Linked DNA regions of Homo sapiens: region 1 is linked to region 2. Evidence: promoter capture Hi-C in human tissues and cell types (Jung and others, 2019). All regions are on one chromosome and are shown on one strand. The core of a region is centred on a gene start or on the middle of the fragment in contact, and the rest is flanking DNA. Distances in the headings are between cores, read along the strand shown. Region 1 overlaps SIVA1 (SIVA1 apoptosis inducing factor). Region 2 holds the start of NUDT14 (nudix hydrolase 14).

Region 1 (3,327 bases), core at 1-2,500, 420 kb before region 2:
CCAGCTGTGCCATGTTCGAGACCTGAGGCTGGCTCAAGCCGGCTGCCTTCACCGGGAGCCACGCCGTGCATGGCAGCCTTCCCTGGACGAGCGCTCGGTGTTCACACTGAACTGTGGGGTCGACGGGAGGGGTGCCTTTTACATGTTCTATTTTGTATCCTAATGACAGAATGAATAAACCTCTTTATATTTGCACAAGAGGACTCTTGTCTGTCAGCACTTCTGAGGGTGGAGTTTGTGACCCTCCACCTGGGAGGGCCAAAGGAGCAGTCAGTGGGCGGGGCCTGCTGCACCTGCTGTCTACCCGCCAGCTCCTAGAGACCCCACTGTGCATTGTGTGAGGCCCCTTACTCGCCCCCTGCTACAGGTGGGAAGGCTCAGCCCAGAGCACGCTCCTCCCCAGCTCGCCCAGCTGGTAAATGGGGAGAAAGGACCCAGGTCTGGCTCCAGGGTACACAACCAGTGTACTAGACCTTCACGGAGAGAGGTGATACTCGCGCCCCATCCCCAGACGCCACTGTCATGCACGCCTGATCCATCACATCTTGGTGTCCACTTTACTTTTTTGGTGCCTGTATGGTCAGGCCCCGTGTGATTGATAGGCCCCTGCCCTCCAGGAGCTTTGCTCTAGCAGGGGAGATGGGCCCAGCTGTGCTCCCTCTGGAGTCGGTGTAGCTTGTGTGGGGCCTTGAAGGAAGAGGAGTTGACAGGAGAGGAGGCGGGGTGGCCTGGAGGACAGAAGAGGGCAGGCTGCTTGAGTGCTGGTCCCCACACAAGTCGACTGAGGCGGGTCCCAGCCCCTCCAGGGATGAGTGAGCAGTTGAGCCACAGCCCCTCTGAGAAGCTCTGGACTAGAGTAAAGGTTGTTTGGGGCAGAGGGTGGGTGGGAGCATGTGCTGGGGACAGTTGAGAAGAGCCTTTGCTGTTCCTGGGAAGCTGTTAGAAGAGCAAATTATGCTGATTCTTAGAGAAAAGTCAGTGGTGCCCAAGTGGTGGGTTGGAGCCAGGCCCAGAGTGGGATTTGCTGCCCTGGGGCCGAGGATATACCACTCCCGTGTCACGGGTAGAGGGGGCGCTCAGAGAGGTGGTCAGCATGGTAAAATTCCAGGGGGCAACTTAGAAGGGGATTGCAGAGGACTGGCTGGGGGCTTCCTGCAATGAGGACGGCCTTGACCGCCTGCTGCGAGCATCGGGAGCAAGTGGCCACGGTCAGCCACGTGCTGACTCCTTCCAGGTTTCCACAACAGACTGCCACCCAAGCCCTCATTTCTGTTACTCCTGTCGCTGCCCCCTCGGGCCTGTCGGCTCTTCCCTTCACATCCTCTGGCCACATCCCTGCCCCACAGGACCACACTACTCCAGCCAGCCTGCCTCCTTCCCCTATAGGGTCACTACATAGCGCCTTCCAGGCTCCCTGCTTCTGCCCTGCACCTGGCAGTCTGTCCTTATACAGCAGCCAGATCTGTCACTCCCCTGTCCCAACACTCCAGTGGCTAAACATGTCCTTAAAAGTAAAAGTCTGTGGCCCCACAGCCTCTGGCTTCACCCCTCCTCCCCTATCCCAAGGCTTGCTCTGCCCCAGCCAGGCCTTCCTGCTGTTCTGAGAATGCTCAGCATGTTTCCCCTGCACCCCCCTCGCTCCTTCTGCCTGGGGAGCTCTTCCTCTGGACATCCATAGGGCTCCCCCGGATTCAGCTCAGAGAAGCATCCCAGTGCCCTAATGTGTAGGACAACCCCTCCATCACGCTCCCTCTCGCCCTACCTAACTTTACCACTGGACGTAATGCATATTTAAGTAAATATGCAAATGTACTTATTCTAACTCTACTAACTGAGGTGTCGCTTCCGTGAGGGGTGGGACTTTGCCTAGAGCAGTACCTGGCATATATGTTTGCAGTAAATATTGTTGGTCTTCCAGCTGTGGTGGAGCAACAAAAACTGGCCCATAGATGACTATATAGAGAGAGAGACATCGGACAGCAGCCATTGCAGGATAGTAACGCCTGAGAGAGGGAACAAACACCAAGAGCCCAGGGCAGCTGCAACACTGGAGTAGAAATTGCCTCAGTGTTCCCCTAAGGCTCCTGCTGAGGACTGATGGCTCCTGTGTGTGAGGAAACTGCCTGAGGCTGGGGAAAGAGCCATTGGAAGAAAGCGGGAAGCAAGTCACATTCCCAGCACTAAGTGTGGGGAAACATCATTCATGGAGAACAGGGTAGAGGACTCAAAAGGATATTGATGCCATATTCAGGCTAGATTAGCCCTAGACTAGAGACTGCTCTGTGCCTTCCTAACACCTTTAAGTCAAGCCTCAAAAAGACCAAACGGTTGCAAGTGCTTTAATAGCATCCAGAACAAAACTCAAAAGTAAGGGGGAAAACATATTTATTTACTTATTTTTTTTAGAACAAACGAGGCCGGGTGTCAGAGGCTCACGCCTGTAATCCAAGCACTGTGGGAGGTCAAGGCGGGTGGATCACTTGAGGCTAGGAGTTTGAGAACAGCCTGGCCAACATGGTGAAACCCCGTCTCTAAAAATACAAAAATAAGCCAGGCACGGTGGCATGTGCCTGTAATCCCAGCTACTCGGAAGGCCGAGGCAGGAGAATCACTTGAACCCAGGAGGTGGAGGTAAGTAAGCCAAGATCTCAATCTCACCACTGCACTCTAGCCTGGGCGACAGAGTGAGACTCCGTCTCAAAAAAAGAAAAAAAACAATCAAACATGCAAAGAAGCAGGAACTATACCACACAATGAGAAGAAAAGTTAGTCTGTAGAAACAGACCCAGAAATGACACAAGGTGGTAGAATAATTCCGTCTACTAAGTAGACAGGGACATCAGAATGGCCATTATTAAGAAGGATAGACGAAAACAGGAGCATGTTAAGAAAAGGAATGAAAGACATAAAAATGGCCCAAACAATTTCCAGAGACAAAAATACAATGTCTGAGATGGAAAATACACTGATGAGATTAAAACCAAAATAGACATTGCAGAGCAAAAAATTAGTGGACTTGAAGCCATTGCAATATAAGCTATCCAAAAGGGAACAGAAAAAAAATGAGGAAAATGGCAGAGCCCCTCTGAGTTGTGGGACCACTTCAAGCAGCCTACTGTGCCTTTAACTGGAGACCCATGGACGAGGGGCATAGCAGGGTGGAGACAACTTTTGGAAAAAATAACGGCAGGCCGGGCGTGGTGGCTCACGCCTGTAATCTCAACACTTTGGGAAGCTGATGCTGGCGGATCACCAGAGGTCAGGAGTTTGAGACCAGCCTGGCCAACATGGTGAAACCCTGTCTCTACTAAAAATGCAAAAATTAGC
Region 2 (3,177 bases), core at 356-2,855:
TGTACCCCGACTGATCCCAGCTGCCCCCTGCCAGCACCACCAGCTTAGCTTCGCCTTGGGGAGAGGGATCCCCTGTCCTCCAGCGCCAACAGGACTCCCGCAACAGGGAAAGTGAGGGGCACAGGGCCTCTCTCAGGCTGGGGGCCAAGAGGGCTTCTCCAGGATGGCGAGGGGCAGAGTCCTGGATGTGATGGGGGGGACAGGATGCCCCCTGAGGGAGGGAGGCAGGCAGGCAGAGAGGCACTGCGACCTGGACCACCTGACCTGATAGGCTGGGGGGCTGGACTGACTGTGACCAGGAAGGTGGTCTTTGCCTTAATGGCATGAAGGAGCTCTGGCAGAGGGGAGATCTGCTGGGGGCAGGTGGGCATGCAAGCAAAAGGTGGGGCCCTAACTGGACAGGGCTGGGCTTGGAGGAAGACGGCCCGGGACTCAGTGATCCACTGGATGTGGGAAAAGGATGGCAGCAGCTCCTTCACCCAACACATATGCCTCATGCCTGTAATCCCCATGCTTTGGGAAGCCAAGGCAGGAGGATCGGTTGAGGCCAGAAGTTCAAGACCAGCCTGGGCAACAGTGAGACGTCGTCTCTACAAAAAAATTTAAACATTAGCCAGGTGTGGTGGTGTGCACCTGTGGTCCCAGCTACTGGGGCGGGGGCTGAGGCAGGAGGATCGCTTGAGCCCAGGAGGTTGAGGCTGCAGTGAGCTGTGACCATGCCACTGCACTCCAGCCTGGGCGACAGCAAGACCCTGTCTCAAAAACAAAACAAAACAAAATATTCCTTGTGAACCTACCATGTGCCTGGTGCTAAGTGAGGCAATACAGCCTCTTGTGCCGTGGCCTGGCATGGGAGAAGGTGACACCCTAGGAGGTGGGGAAGGCTGAGCTTAGGCAGATGGAGACTCCAAGGAGGTGCCCTCCCTGGAAAAAACCCCAAGGAGGAAGCCTGCTTTGAGAGGCTCTCTCAAGTTCTCACTCAGCTCCTTCTCCTACCTCCCTGCGCCCGGCCTCTGCGCTCCTTGCTCCCTCCTCCTCGGCCCAGCTATCTCCTCCTTCAAGTGGTAGCATGAAAGCCACCACTTCCAGGAAGCCTTCCCTGATCCCCAGGGCAACCAAGGAGTTCCACTGCCAAGAGGGTCGGATTGGGCGGGCGGGAAGGATGGGGCCCAGCAATGCTTCCTTGAAAGGATGAGTGGTGCCCCCTCAGATGTCCCTCCCGCGGCCCCTCCCCGGCCTGGGGGCTCACTGGGTCTGGGAACCCGCGATCCGGCGGGCGGACAAGCGGCCGCCCGGGAGATCGGCGGGAGGCGGGGGCGGGGCTCCGGGGCGGGGCCGGCAGCGCGGAAGATGGTGGGCGGGGCGCGGGTCGTGGGCCGGGCCGCCGGCGGGGGCGCGGGGGACGCGGGGGCGCGGGCTCACCTGGCGGTAATGCAGCGTGAGCGGCCGCAGGTAGGGTGAGGCGGCGCAGCGGCCCACGGACGCCCCCTCGATGCGCTCCATGGCGGCGCCCGGACAGGCGGGGGCCGCGAGCTCTGCGGGGGCCGACACGGGGCGGCGCCCTGTCCCGACAGGAGCCTTCGGGCGGGCGCGTGACCGCGGCTCTGAGCATGCTCCGTGGGCGCGCGGGGCGGGGCGGCCGAGGTGGGCGGGGCGGCCGAGGTGGGCGGGGCTCGCAGGTGCCACCTGTCGGGTGCCGCGCGCCTCGGGGCGCTGGTCGCCGCGGTGCCAGGGAAGCCGCGCAGGCACGTGGGCGTCGCCCGGGGGAAGGACTGGCCGGGTCGACCCCGGCCGCCGGGCGGGGCCAGCCGGGCCGGGGTACAGTGCTTGGGTGGGACTCGGGACCTCTTGGCTGGGGGAGGGAGGGCCTGGCGGTGGTTGGAGCTAAGGGCCTGCAGCTTTGGGGTGCGATGGGCCGAGCGGATGCCTCCCCACTCTGGGGATGGACCACAACCCCGAGATTAAGTTACTCCAGGGGTCCGCGGGCGGGGCCGGGGGCGGGGCAGCCCCCCAGGGAGGGAGGGACTGTGGGCCCAGGAAGAAAATCACAGGAGACCAAAGAGAGAGGGCCCTGGAAGGAAGCTAGGGGAGAGGAGAGTAGGGAGCTGGAGGGGCCAGAGCTTGGGCCGAGGGGGCCTCCCCTCGAGGTTCCTGGTGGCGAGGGTGGCTGGGAGCTGCCACGCTGTCTCTGGAGCTGTCCCTCCTCCACTCAAAAGCCAGCTGCCCTTCCCTCCCCCTGCAAGTCCTACCTTGATGACGGCCCTTCCTGGGTGTGGGAGGGTCCCAGGCAGCTTCAGTGCTTCCTTGGGCATGGATTCCAAGGACCCCCTCCAAATGCCACCACGGCCTCCACGGGGGCAGGAAACAATATTGAGGCCCACACTGGCCCTGAACCCTGACCTGCACCTGCTTTCTGAACTATGGCCCAGGGGACATGCTCAGGGTGGACTGGCCATGTGAGCTTGAAATCGACTCCCAGTTCCCTGTTAACTATTGCCGTGTAACAAAACACTCCTCCAAAGCTTAGTGCCTTAAAGCACCCCGTTATCGCCTGGCCTGTGGGTTGCCCAGCTCAGCCAGGCAGCCCTGTCTTGGGGTCTCTCTGCAGTTGTAATCAGGTGGCAGCTGGGGCTGGAGTCGTCTGAAGGCCAAACGGGGTGGACCGTCCAGGATGGCCTCTTCGCCCCCGCCCTCAGTTGGGTGGCTGGAACAGCTAGGGCCGGCTGGCCTCCCATGTGGCTGGCGTGGGCTTCCCTGCAGCATGGTGGTCTCGGGGTAGTTGGATTCTCCCGTGGCAGCTGGCTCCCTCCAGAGCACGTTCACCAGGCCAGGCCAAGCTGCCAGGCTTTGTGTGACCTGGCCTCAGATGTCATATGGTGTCATTCCTGGGGCATCCTGTGGGTCAGAAAGTCCTGGGCCTCCGGCAGATTCCAGGGGAGGGACATCACCAGGTGGGAACGCTGGGGAGCACGGTCATGAAGCCAGCATCCAAGTCCAGCTGTCACCGCCCCAGTAGCTCTACAGGGGCCTGTGTCTCCCTGCTTTAGCCATTCCGCCTGGTGTCCCGGAAGCCAGAGCGCCCAGCCCAGAAGCTGGCCCCACCCTACCCCACAGCCAGGCAGGCCTCTTCCTCCGGTGCACGAGGGGCCCAGGGTAAGCGCGCACCCTGGCATGTCG

What was found. Contacts are between HindIII fragments. The study calls those that stand out against the background at their distance.
Region 1: a fragment that was not itself captured here is called in contact with the fragment with the promoter of NUDT14 in region 2 in 1 of the 25 tissues and cell types used here (mesendoderm cells).

The regions. Positions count from the first base shown.
Region 1 is chr14:104,759,460-104,762,786 of GRCh38, forward strand. It overlaps SIVA1 (SIVA1 apoptosis inducing factor), which reads left to right. Exons shown (of 4, transcript NM_006427.4): 4 at 1-195. The coding sequence ends at 26. All of the region lies in intron 1 of LOC107987209 (a long non-coding RNA gene), which reads right to left. Among named protein-coding and RNA genes, the nearest start is that of SIVA1, 8.0 kb to the left of the region's middle. RefSeq lists enhancers at 1-884, 885-1,831. The HindIII fragment of the contact is 8,734 bases long and covers 1-3,327 here.
Region 2 is chr14:105,179,707-105,182,883 of GRCh38, forward strand. NUDT14 (nudix hydrolase 14) reads right to left here and starts at 1,606. Exons shown (of 5, transcript NM_177533.5): 1 at 1,423-1,606. The coding sequence starts at 1,503. RefSeq lists a silencer at 1,306-1,775. The HindIII fragment of the contact is 11,467 bases long and covers 1-3,177 here.